Linked DNA regions of Homo sapiens: all the other regions are linked to region 3. The links are contacts of gene promoters, found by promoter capture Hi-C in blood cells and fetal thymus (Javierre and others, 2016). All regions are on one chromosome and are shown on one strand. Each heading gives the region's core, a stretch centred on a gene start or on the middle of the fragment in contact. The rest is flanking DNA. Distances are from core to core; before and after follow the strand shown. Region 1 overlaps LOC105374615 (a long non-coding RNA gene). Region 2 has its middle 580 kb from the start of VRK2. Region 3 holds the start of PNPT1 (polyribonucleotide nucleotidyltransferase 1).

Evidence for each region. Contacts are between HindIII fragments. The CHiCAGO score rates a contact against its expected background, and 5 or more counts as called.
Region 1: a contact is called between a fragment that was not itself captured here and the fragment with the promoter of PNPT1 in region 3, in 1 of 17 cell types (non-activated CD4 T cells). The highest score is 6.6, in non-activated CD4 T cells.
Region 2: a contact is called between a fragment that was not itself captured here and the fragment with the promoter of PNPT1 in region 3, in 1 of 17 cell types (M2 macrophages). The highest score is 10.9, in M2 macrophages.

Annotation. Positions count from the first base shown.
Region 1 is chr2:54,108,075-54,112,569 of GRCh38, reverse strand. It overlaps LOC105374615 (a long non-coding RNA gene), which reads right to left. Exons shown (of 2, transcript XR_940093.1): 2 at 3,579-4,495. It also overlaps a transcript of ACYP2 not described here. Among named protein-coding and RNA genes, the nearest start is that of ACYP2, 5.3 kb to the left of the region's middle. The HindIII fragment of the contact is 4,296 bases long and covers 257-4,495 here.
Region 2 is chr2:57,466,850-57,471,059 of GRCh38, reverse strand. No RefSeq gene overlaps it. Among named protein-coding and RNA genes, the nearest start is that of VRK2, 580 kb to the left of the region's middle. The HindIII fragment of the contact is 281 bases long and covers 2,359-2,639 here.
Region 3 is chr2:55,690,385-55,695,139 of GRCh38, reverse strand. It overlaps PNPT1 (polyribonucleotide nucleotidyltransferase 1), which reads left to right and starts at 1,296. Exons shown (of 28, transcript NM_033109.5): 1 at 1,296-1,477. The coding sequence starts at 1,317. RefSeq lists enhancers at 1,107-1,256, 1,287-1,346, 1,357-1,476 and a silencer at 2,047-2,106. The HindIII fragment of the contact is 6,564 bases long and covers 1-3,879 here.

The sequences.
Region 1 (4,495 bases), core at 1,155-3,654, 1.6 Mb after region 3:
TCATTTTTCACTACCATAAAAAAGAAAATATTTATGCATGTAGCTTCCTTCCCACATATTTTTAATTGAAGTTGGAATATCAAATCAAGGGTATAAGCATGTATTGTTCTTGATATATATTGCCAAACTGTTTTTCGAAGGGCTGTGCCAATTTAAATATATTACTACCAAGACTGTATATGATTATTTGGCTTTTTATACAAACAAATGTATGCAGGTCCTTCACGTACAATGCATGATTAAATTATATGAAGCTTTGGTTTTGTAACCTGAGCAACAGCTTTGGAATAACTAGGCTTTGTGTTACTACTGGTTGAAATTAAAACCTGTTAATTCCCTTCTTTGAACCCTTTAAGACAATTGGTTTGTGATCTAGGATCATGTTTAAGGTAATACATAGAAAGGGAAAATCCTGCTTATATAATATGACTGTAAAAGATGACCAGGCACCAGAATCTGTAAAATAAGCATAGATAATACACATTTACATGTGTGTATTATCTATATATGACAATAATACATATGATAGATAATACACATCTCTATATGTGTATATCTAATAAGGATAGATAATACACAGAACCTGTGAAATAAGGATAGATAGTACTCTGTGTCCAAATGACATTTGAAGTGAGGAGGTACCGCCTGTAACTCTCAAATTCATCACCACATGGGGTCATTTGAAAGTGATTGCTAGAGTTATTTCTCAGAAATTTGATATTAAGATATGATTGATTTTAAGGACAAGCAAAATTACTTTATCCATCGGCATATTTCTATCCCTGAAATATTTTTGTAATCATTATGTTGAAAGTGCAGGACCCAACATGATACAAATTGTTAACTTCCATTCAATGATTCCCTGTGGAAGGAATACTTTATAGGTAAAATAAATGCTTAATTATTACTAAACTGGATTCAAAATTATTAGACAGCAGACTGTTGGTCAGCTGAGCAAGTAGCTGGTTTCCCAGAAGAGGCTTTAATCTTATTACAAGTTATCAGAAAATTGCTTAAGCGTTCTATCAGCAAAGCAGATTTCTTTCCAGAAGGAGATTCTGTCCCAGGTTTGAACCAATTTTTCTTTGTCACAGTCCAATTTAATATTAAAAAGTCAGAAGGATATGTAACATTAAAGTGTCTTCCCTCTCCCAGCTTGGTACTGAGTATGCTGAAGTGAGGAGAGGGCATGGTTGGTCCCCCCCGCCCTTGCCTTAGTTTCCCCCTACCTAGCTGAAAATGGGAACAAACAAGTACTTTTGAAATCCATTTAGGCTCTCTGGGAATGGTGAATATTCAAAGCTGACTACTTATTTTGCAGGATTCTTTTTGTAGGGACTCAGAGCTTCACCCCACTTGGAATTCTTGACTGCTGCTCCCTTGTTAGGCTATGCCAGTTCTCTCTACAGCCGTATCCCAGCTTCTGTATTAAGTGCCCCATCCCAGCTTCTGTATTAAATGCTACACCTCCAACCTCTTTCTGCTGAAAGAGACTAGCCCCCAGCAAGAAGGCCATCTGGGTGGGATCCATTTTAAACTGACCACAGGACCACATCCCTCCCTCCCATCATATCTAGTTATGGAGGCTCATATCTCTGCCCTACCAGTGATAGAAGTCACAGATTGCTCTGAACTCAACCACCTCTCTTTGCTCTGCTTGGCAGTCATTTTTCAGACATCTCCAGCCACAGCCTTTCCTCTTTCCTTTCCTCAGGTATCGGTCAACGTGTCTTTCTAGCTCCAAGGAGTAAACACCGAGTTCTCAGAGAGGTTTTCTTAAAGACTGTCTCACTGAGCTTGGGGTGATGGGGCGACACCTTGCTTCTCTCTCCCACGGTGGGAGGGAAAAAAGCCACAGTTCCCTACTGCATTTCCCCAAAGAAATACTCTGGATCCTGAGGTGGGTGTTGGACTAAAAATCTTAAAACTCTTTTAAAATGCCCCTTTTGCACAACACAGGGAGTTTAGCACCTCATCTCAAAATGTAGCTATAACTATGGTTTTGTTTTCAGTCCCAGGTCTCAGCTAAAGCAGAGATAAAAGTCCTGTTTTTCAAATCAACAGAATTCAATACATATACCTTGTTTGGATCCTGATTTGAGTACGTAAACTTGAACAAGACATTTTTTAGACCATTGGGGAACTTTGAATGTAGGCTGACTACTAAACATTACAGAATCATCATTAACTTTGTCACTGTGATAACGGCATCGTGGGTATATTCTTTAAAGGCCTTATCTGTTAGAGGCATGTACTGAAATACATAAGGGTACTATGATATAATATTTGGCGCTTGATTTAAAATCCTCAGGGTTGGCAGGTAGGACAGTTTAGATAGAATAAACTTGGAAATGGTGACAGTTTTGAAGCTGGGTCTTGGGTAGATGGGGATTCATTATACTATTCTCTAATTTTGTGTGTGTTTAAAATGCTTACGTGAAGTTTAAAAATAAAATTAAAAATTGAAGAGAATATAATTTAATTCTACGAAATGCCTGACTAGTAATCCTCAAAACTGTCAAGGTCATCAGAAACAGAGAAAGCCTGAGAAGCATCTACCAGGAGCCTAAGGAGACCTGATGACTAGATGCAATGTTAGTATCCTTGGTGGGATCGTGGGACAGAAAAAGAACTTGAGGTGAAAACTGAGGACATCTGAATAAAGTACAAACTTTAGTTAATAATGAGATATTGATATTGGTTCATTAATTGCAACAAATATACCATTTATCATTAACAATGGTAGAAAATACTATTTATTAATATTAAGATATTAATAATAGGGTAACTGAATGTGGGGCATATGGGAACTCTACTATATTCACAATAATTTTTTTAATCAACAACTATTCTAAAATTAAAATTTTACTTTCTGAAAGTTTATTTTAGTATCCTATTATATGTTTTCATAATAACATTTCAAAATAATTTCTCAATGTGGTGCATGAGCAGATTCACCATTTCAGTATACAGGCATATAATTTTTTTTATTTTTAAATTTATGTTTTATCTCAATAGGTTTGGGGGAACATGTGATGTTTGGTTACATGAATAAGTTCTTTAGTGGTGATTTCTGAGATTTTGGTGCACCCATCCCTCAAGCAGTGTACGCTGTACCCAATATGCAGTTTTTTTATCCCTCACCCCCTCCCACCCTTTCCCCCGAGTATCCAAAGTCCACTGTGTCATTTTTATGCCTTTGCATCCTCATAGCTTAGCTTCCACTTATCAGTGAGAACATACGATATTTAGTTTTCTATTCCTGGGTTACTTCACTTAGAACGATAGTTTCCAGTTCCATCCAGGTTGCTGTGAATGCCATTATTTCATTTCTTTTTATGGCTGAGTAGTATTCCATGGTATATGTGCATATATATGTATACCACATTTTCTTTATCTACTCATTGATTGATGGGCGTTTGGGCTGGTTCCATATTTTTGCAATTGTGAATTGTGGGCATATAATTTAAATTTCGAGGCAACCCTGAAGTCATGCTCAGGCATAGATAGGACCAAACAGTTAACTTTCAAAGCACTAAAGCATATCTGAACTGGCATAAAGAAGAACAAGTAGATAATCAAATATACTAAAACCTTTATTAATGAAAAGAATGTATTACAGAAATAGTTCATTTCCAGAGGAAGAAATAATATAAAATGCAAAAGAATATATCTAGAAGTAAGGAAAAGTAAAGGAAAATATCATTATAATTAGCATTGAGTCCTTTAGAAAACAGGAAGTAGGCATCTGAAGGTATTGAGTGAGAAAAAGGTAAAGTTAATATTACATCAGGAGGCAACTAATCACAGATGCCACTGCTTGGACACACCAAGGAGGCAAAAAATGGCAAAGTCAGATTTTGAACAGAGTGTGCCCAGACTATGAGCTATCACAACAAGACAGGGAAGGCGAAAAAGGGCCAGCCACCAACTCGGGGGAAAAAGGGCCAGCCACCAGCTCAGACAAAAAGTAGGCAACACAGACCCCTCCCTTCCTAATATCCCCCAGGCGTGGACTTCAGCTGGTATCAGGTTTGCTTTTCCTATGGAAGCAAGGAGCCTATCCGGGGAAGAGATTCGTCCTGATTTCTTCTTAGTTCACACACACTTAAACTCCCGAAAGGGCTTGACTCAGATTTACCCGCAGGTCTGGGCTAGTGTGACAACAAGGGCCTTCGTGTCTTTAAAATAACTCATCTACTTCATGATGTCCTTGGTGAAACAGTGGATTGGTACACACATCCATTGCAATCTCTTTCTAGCTGGACTTTCTGTTTCTGTAGGGCTGGGAAGTTTAAAGCTACAAACCCTGGACATTCTTGCAATTAAGATTCCTCATGTGATAGAGTTTCCACCAGCAGAATTAAAATTGTAGATGTGGAGGGAGGGTATGAGTGAGGCAGGGGCCATCTGCTGCTGGTTCTGTGATAAGCACAGTCGCGGAGGAGTTTAGTTATTCTGTGCCATTGTTAACTGACTGTTCACTGGCTTGTGG
Region 2 (4,210 bases), core at 1,250-3,749, 1.8 Mb before region 3:
AGATTGAAGATGCTTATTGATTAGATATGTGATCTAAGTACACTTACCATCCATTGGTTTTCTATTTCTTGTTAATCCTTAACAGATGGTACAGAATTCATTATGGCTCAGCCAGAATCACAGCAAATTTTTCCTTGTCAGCAGAACAACATTCCTAATTCCTCAGAGAGTGAGTTAACTTTTAAACTCTCTTAGAAAAGACTTAACTTTTAAGAAGACAGCCATCAAAATACATACCTATGTTTATTCAACATTTCTTTCTCATTCTGCCATTCTAAAGACAAGAAATAAATAGAATAACAGCTCTATTATTCAACAACTGTTTGTTGAACAGCTATTACGTGCTGGGGCAGGGTGCTAAACACTGATATGTACAGAGAAAAAGAGAACTTTGCCCCTAAGGATACATGTTTTACTGTGAGATGGAAATATACTAACATATACTTAAATTATATTGTACTTGAACTATGATAGAAATAAAAAAAAAGAGGGAATTTGGAAGACTGACTAATTCTCTTTGAAACAGAAATGAAGTCAAAGAAGCCCAGCCGATTATCTACTTCTAGCAGTATTATTTGCCATAAATGAAAGTGCCATGGTCCAAATTTTCTTGGCCCTTGCCTCTTTATTGTGAAAGAGCATAGGGTTATTCTTCATAAAAAGTTATTTAATGACTTTAAACCACCCTCATTTATTCCTTACTTAAAAATAAAATTTTATTTGATCTACCACTAGATGACTTATTAAGAAAATAAGACACCCAAAGACATGTGCAACACAAAGAAAAAGCACAAGATTGCCAGGCACAGTGGCTCACGCCTGTAATCCCAACACTTTGGGAGGTCGAGGCAGGCGGATCACCTGAAGTCAGGAGTTCAAGACCAGCCTGGCCAACATGGCAAAACCCTGTCTCTACTAAAAATACAAAAATTAGCCAGGTGTAGTGGCCCATGCCTGTAATCCCAGCTATTCGGGAGGCTGAGGTAGGAGAATCGCTTGAACCCGGGAGGCGGAGGTTGCATGAGCCACGATCACGCCACTGCACTCCAGCCTGGGTGACGGAGAGAGATTCTGTCTCAAAAAAAATAAATACAAAATAGAAAAAGCACAAGATTACAGATATAAAGGTTGAAAGGGTATTTGAGAAAATTAAGAAACACATTCCTAATTTTAAAAACTCTAAGTAATCCATAAAAGTAGAGACCCACTTAACTGTAAGAAAGACAGTTTACCAACAATAGTGGAAAATATTATCCCAAATCAGTAACTCCAACTGCATTTCAATTAAAATCAGAAACTAGATCAAAATGTCATAACCACAAGTATTCTAACACTGATTGCAGTAAATACAAAAGTAAAATAACCTAACTGCAAAATTTATTTTAAAATTGTAAGAAAAAACAAATATCTAATATGTGATAGGAAAATATGAGAAGGAAATAAGTTACAATATATAAAAAAGAGAACTAGATATTAGAACATAATATAAAACCACATTAATAAAATTAAGGTGGTATTGATGTAAACTAGCAATAGACAAATTGATCAGTGGAATCCAGTCATGTTCAAAAGCAGACTCCATTGTATATGTGAGAATTTAATACATAATCACCTTGATTTTTCTCTTATAGTGAGGAATATGTGATTTGTTTAAAAAATTTACTAACATAAACAGGCATTCCTTTAGAAGAAAATGCTGTATTCAAAGAATAATTCCAAAATTATTAAGTAATATATGAGACTAAAAGCACTTGCAAATTACAAAGATTCTTTCTTTCTCTAGTGTCTTGTCCAAAAATGCAGCTGGGCTAGGTGTTTGTAACGTATGTGTGTGTGTGTGTGTGATGTATTATGATCTGAATGTTTATGTCTCCCCAAAATTTATGTTGAAATCCTACCCTCAAGGTGATAGTACTAGGAGATGAGGTCTTTGGGACATGATTAGATGAGGAGAGTGGGTCACTCATGAATGACATTAGTGTACTTATAAAAGAGATCTGAGAGCGATTTCTCACTCCCTGCACATGGGAGAACATAGCTAGAAGGCATCACCTATAAGCTGGAAAGGAAGCCCTTACCAGACACCAAATCTACCTCAGATTTGGACTTTTCAGAGCCCAGAATTGTGATAAATAAATTTCTGGTGTTTATAGCCTACCCAGTTTACATTATTTTGTTATAGCAGCTTGGATAGACTAAGACATTGTGTGTGTGTATACACATATATACATATATGTTATACATACATGTATTTTCTGGGAAATAAAATGGAAATAAAGGATATGTAGGAATTATGAAATTTAGGGTACAGGTGAGCTAATGTAGGTTCAGGGAAAAGAGAAAATGTGGAGTCAAGCTTAAATGTTTTTTAAAAGTATGATAAAATATCCAAGATATGTGTTGTTATTTTTATGCCCTCATAAAAATTAAGTATGTGACATGTATATTTTTAAAATATCCTAAAAATGATTTCAGATTAGAAAACAACTAAGTTACATTCATTTGCAATTAAATTATCTCTGTGAATATAGTTTAACCAAACATATTGATAGGCAATGAAGACTGTGGTTTCTATAATCACTAGGGATATTCCAGTTCACAAATTTTCATGGAATGTAGACCCCCCACTAAATGAAGCTTATACACAAAGGAGAAATATCTTTGAAATTGCTATTCCAATGCTTGGTAGCTTATATTCATTAAGTTCATGATAACATTTTCTCAGGAAGTTAATCTCCATGGATAGACCTTAAGGTTGAAGTTCAATTTATACCCTAGGTTAGCTCCTTATACTCTCTATCCACCATAGTTAGATATTAGAGCTTCTTAAAACTGTCACCTCTATTTGTTGCATCATCTCTGATTTCTTTCATCAGTGTTTTGTAATTGTCATTGTAGAGATTTTTCACCTTTTTGCTTAGCTGTATTCCTAGGTATTTTCATGCTCATGGGTAGGAAGAATAAATATCATGAAAATGGCCATACTGCCCAAAGCAATTTACAAATTCAGCGCTATTCCTAACAAACTACCAATGTCATTTTTCACAGATTAAGAAAAAAAAAAGATTCTAAAATTTTTGTGGAATAAAAAGAGCCCTAAGAGCCAAAGCAATCCTAAGCAAAAAAAAAAACAAAGTCAGAGGCATCATGTTACCTGACCTGAAACTATACTGCAAGGCTGCTGTAACCAAAACAGCATGGCACTGTTCCAAAAACAGACAGGTAGACCAATGGAACAGAATAGAGAAGCCAGAAATAAATCTGCACACCTAAAACAATCTGATCATTGACAAAGTCAACAAAAATAAACAATGGGGAAAAGACTCCTCATTCAATAAATGGTGCTAGGATGACTGGCTATCCATATGCCGAAGAAGGAAACTGGATCTCTACCTTTCACCCTATACAAAAATTAATGGAAGTCAGATTAAAGACAAATGTTAGACAGGAAAAATAACTAATGGGTACAAGGCTTAATACCTGGGTGACAAAATAATCTGTACAACAAACCCCCATGATACAAGTTTACCTATATAACAAGCCTGCACATGTACCCCTGAACTTAAAAGTTAAATTAAAAAAAAAAGATTCTAGAAGAAAACATAGAAAAACTCCTTCTCAATATTGGCCCTAGCAAAAAATTTATGGCTAAATCCTCAAAAGCAACTACAACAACAACACATTGACAAATAGGACCTAATTAAACTAAAGAGTGTCTGCACAGCAAGAGAAACTAAAGAGAGTAAACAGACAACCTATAGAATGGGAGAAAATATTTGCAAACTATGCATCTGACAAAGGCCTAATATCCAGAATCTATAAGCAACTTAAATCAACAAGCAAGAAACATACCCCATTAAAAAGCAGGCAAAAGGGCACAAACACACACTTCTCAAAAGAAAACATACAAGCAGCCAACAAATATATTTTTAAAATGCTCATAATCACTAATCATCAGAGAAATCCAGATCAAAGCCACAATGGGATACCATCTCACACCACTCAGAATGGGTTTTGCTAAAATGTCCGAAAGTCACAGATACTGGCAAGGCTGTGGAGAAAGAGGGATACTTATACACTGCTTGTGGGAATGTAAATTAGTCCAGACACTCGGGGGAGCAGTTTGGAGGTTTCTCAGAGAACTAAGAGTTAAACTATAATTGGATGCAGTGATTCCACTATCAGGTATGTACCCAAAGGAAACCAATCT
Region 3 (4,755 bases), core at 47-2,546:
TTGTATTTTTAGTAGAGACGCGGTTTCAGCATGTTGGCCAGGATGCCCTGGGTCTCTTGACCTCGTGATCCACCCGCCTCTGCCTCCCAGCGTGCTGGGATTACAGGCATGAGCCACTGCGCCCGGACTTTTTTTTTTTTTTTTTTTTTTTTTTTTTTTGAGACCGAGTTTCACTCTTGTTGCAATGACGCGATCTCGGCTCACTGCAACCTCCGCCTCCCGGGTTCAAGCGATTCCCCTGCCTCAGCCTCCCGAGTAGCTGGGATTACAGGCATAAGCCACCATGCCCGGCTAGTTTTGTATTTTTAGTAGAGACGGGGTTTCTCTGTGTTGGTCAGGCTGGTCTCGAACTCAGGTGATCCGCCCGCCTCGGCCTCCCAAAGTGCTGGGATTACAGGCGTGAGCCACAGCGTCCAGCCAACGTTTTTAATTCTTAAAACTGTGTTTGAATGAGTGTTGGGTTTTTGTTGTTTGGTTTTCTTTGGGGTAAGGCGGTTATCACCTTACACAAAAAATTTACATCATAATATGAAAATGCCCATTGGTTCATTCAAGGAAAAACATAAAGAATTTCTAACAGAATGGATTAATGGGGTGGAAGAAATTTATCCATTCTCTAAAAATTTTTCAAATCCCAAAAACTTTTTTTTTTCATTTTACAAAATATTTACTTCAAACAGTAGCTGGCATTTTGCATTTAAGAGTTCGACCAAAAGGGACAGAAATATAAATTGCTAATTATTAGCAATGGAAATGAAAATGAATCAGAAGTGACAATAAAGATTTCTAAAATTACAAGTCGATGAAAAATGAATTTACTGTAAATTGGTTAACACAAATCGCTGTAGTAACATATCTGCTATGTGAAATTTTTAAAATAAAAACCAGGGCGGAGAAGGGGAGAAGGAGATCTCTTTCCAAGGCCCACCACCCAAATTCTAATTCTTAGTTCACAGATCCAAATAATAATAATGTGTTGTTCTATGACTTCTAGTATTAAAAGTAAATATAAATTTACTCTGCATATTAAACATTTACATTATTCTAGGACTTCTCCTTTAAATTACGATAGTACACACACAAAAACCTTATTTATCTAATTGCCTTTCGTTGGCACATAAAGACAAAGATCGTTTGCAACATAATCGCGTTCTGATAGGTTTGACCCTCTCTAGTCTTCGTAGAAGGTGGCCAAGGTTTCCGTTACCCCGGCGTCCCTCGGGCACCGCGGAAACGAAACTCCATCAGGCTCCGCCCCACGGTCTGCGGAGTGAGCCAATCAGGGCACAGCCTGCGTTGACCGCGTGCCGGGTGTCATGGCGGCCTGCAGGTACTGCTGCTCGTGCCTCCGGCTCCGGCCCCTGAGCGATGGTCCTTTCCTTCTGCCACGGCGGGATCGGGCACTCACCCAGTTGCAAGTGCGAGCACTATGGAGTAGCGCAGGGTCTCGAGCTGTGGCCGTGGACTTAGGCAACAGGTAAGGAGTGACGTGCGTTCACTGTATTGTCATAAGGTGTCTTGTCCAGCCAGCTTGAGCGTATTCATCTCCCAGGGTAGAAACCCGGTATCCCAGCTCTATTTAATCTCTCCTTACCCTAAACCTAAATTCCAAATTTCCCTTTCCGGGTTTGGAATGTGTCTCCTCGGACCCTCCTTCCCGCGCTATGTCGTTCTCTCTGTTGGTGTGTGCCGGGCTTCTTTGCTCCATCCGACTCTGTCCGTCCACCTGACTTCCGATCTCTTTACTTTCCGGGACCACTGGGCTCTTAAGTGGGAAACATTCCACCTAGGAATAACGAGTTGACGTGGGTGAGACGAGGCCCCCCGGGATGCTGGCCCGGACCCTGGAAGCTGGGGCTCTGATGCCCCTCGAGCTGGGACACAGACCTCAGCAGAGGCTCCGGGTGGCTAGTGCACCACGGGTCCCCCACGTCCCACTCCTCGGGCTCCTTCAGCCTCCTCTTCACCAGGAGCCTACCTTGTAGAAGTTGAACACCAGGTCCAGTTCACAGACATTGTGGAAATATTCGTTTAAGACCTGGGAGAGGAAGGCAGAGATGGTAAGAGATGGACAGGGAGAGAGCCACACACGCACAGAGATGGGAACAAGGTCATCAGAAAGAGACAGCAAAAAAAAGAGACCAAGAGGGAGGCAGGGGAGAGAGAGAGACAGTGACAGGGAGAGAGGCAAGGAGACACACAGAGAGAAACAAAAGCAAAGATCGATGCAAAGAGATGGCAAAAGGTCAGGCGCTCACACCTGTAATCCCAGCACTTTGGGAGGCTAAGACGGAAGGATGACTTGAAGTTAGGAGTACAAGATATCATGTCATCCAATCTAATTGATTGCCTAAAGTGTGACCACTATGACCCTGGGTTAGGAGGAAAAGGAAAAGTCAGTTTTTTGAACGCCAGTTATATGATCCTCGCAATCTTTTTAAACCTGTCGTAAAGGTACTATTACCCTCATTTTATAGTTAAGACTACAGAGGCTCAAAAAAGGTTAGATAACTTTCTAAGAGTCTATAAAAAAGTTAGTATTATGGGACTAGGTGGTTTTTGAATTTCTGTTTTTTGCTTACAAAGCCCATACTTTTTTTTAGGGGACCGCTTTTTAAAAAAAAAGTTTGCTTTAATCGTTCTTAGAATAAATGGAATTGCTAATGCAAACTTCATATATCTAAATTTTTTACGTGTACTTTGAAAAAATTTGGACCCCAGTTCATACAAAAAGCAAAAAAATCATTTTGAATCCAGGTCTCGCACTCTAACTTTGATAAGTAGTTGACATTGAACAGGTTAATTCACCATTTTCTTGTGCAAAGTGTGGAGAGTGGATTCCATCAAGGGTCTGCAAACTTTTCTATAAAGGACCAGATAATATATATATTAGGCTTTTTGGGGTACACACTGTGTGTATGTGTTTACAAACCCTTTAGAAATATTTTAAAAAACGGCCGAGCACAGTGGCTAACACCTGTAATCCGAGCACTTTGGGAGGCTGAGGTGGGTGGATCTCCTGAGGTCAGGAGTTCGAGACCAGCCTGGCTACAATGGTGAAACCCCGTCTTTACTAAAAATACAAAATTAGCTGGGCGTGGTGGCAAGCACCTGTAATTCCATTTACCTGGGAGGCTGAGGCAGGAGAATCGGTTGAACCCAGGAGGCAGAGGTTGCAGTGGCAGAGATCGTGCCATTGCACTCCAGCCTGGGTGATAAGAGTGAAACTTTTGTCTCAAAAAAAAAAAAAAAAAAAAAAAATATATATATATATATATATATATATATATAAACATTTTTAATTGAAGAGTAATATAGAAATAGGCCACAAGCTGTAGTTTGGTCACCCCTAGACTAGGTTATCTCTAAGGCTTATTCCACTCCCAGCATTCATTAATTCTGATTTTTGAGGGAAGTGGACATCTCTTCCATTCTTCAAGGACTACACATGCTTCAAAGAAATGCCCAGAACATTTCATTCAACAGACACATACTGTGAGATAGGCATTAGATACTGAAAACAAGATGCAGCTGCTGCCCTCCATATTTTCCATAAATAATCTACTTTGACTCTTTCATTTATTAATCAACCTGTTCCTCTTTTGTAGGTAGTTCTTTTTAAACTCGTGTCATGTGTTGAAATAACTAGACTAATAAAATATCATACCTGCTGGATAAATTCTTTCATTTTTGTCTTGTTTGCCATTGGCAACATTTATTGAGTGACTACTATGTACCAGGCACATTATATTTGTTATCATATATATTCTTTACTGCATTCTGGAAGATTATATAATTATTGTAGGTGTTTTTCAGATAGTATATTTAATGCTTACAGTAACCTTGGAGGCAGGTGTTTAATTTTCATTTCAGCAAGCTTTTATTGAGCATCTACTATGTATCAAATCACTGAGGATATTCAACAGAATATGCCACAGTGGGCAAAATGCTAAGGCAGTAGCCCCGTTAGTAGAGTAGAACTGTAGCTTTCACAGTTTTTCTTCCCTGTGTTTTGGGCCCACTTCTGTCTAGTTAAAGATCCTCCACTCCCCTTCACAGAGATCACTTAGGTATTCAGAATTTACATTGGTAGACAGAATGCCAGTTCCTGGTAAGTTTTGAGAAGTACTGGTGGCATGTTACTCAGGGTTAAACAAAATTTCAAGATGTCAGATTTACATTTGCCTCATGAAACCATTACTTAATACTGATTTCAGCTATAGGTTGTTGCAGGTCTGTGATACTACACAGTGTGACTGGTTTTGAGTATCTCATTCCTTCCATCTACTCAACATACTAATCCAGCATCAGCCTCTCTGTACCTCATTCCCATTAGTCACAGGAGACCCATTTTATTGTAGGCTTTCATCATTATAACATCTGTGTTGAATAAATAGAAACCCAACTAGAATTTCTCAAATATTCCCTGATTTTAAAAAAAAACTAATATTTCAGAGTCAAGAATTTGATACTACAAAATCATTGTATTTATTAACATATATTAAATGTACATACTTTGTTCTGACTTTCAAACTTAACAAAATGAGTCTAACTGAATAGATAAATATGCTTTTCATTAACTCAGGCTTCTGGCAAAGGTATTTAACAGGTGAAAATATTAAGGGTTGTTCCTTCATCTCCTTGGTATGTGAAAGACAGAATAATCTTACTTGGGGTAGGGCATTGGGCCTGTCTACATGCTTGTGTTTGGTTTGTGCATTTTCAGCACCAGACTATGATAGAATGTTGCCGAAA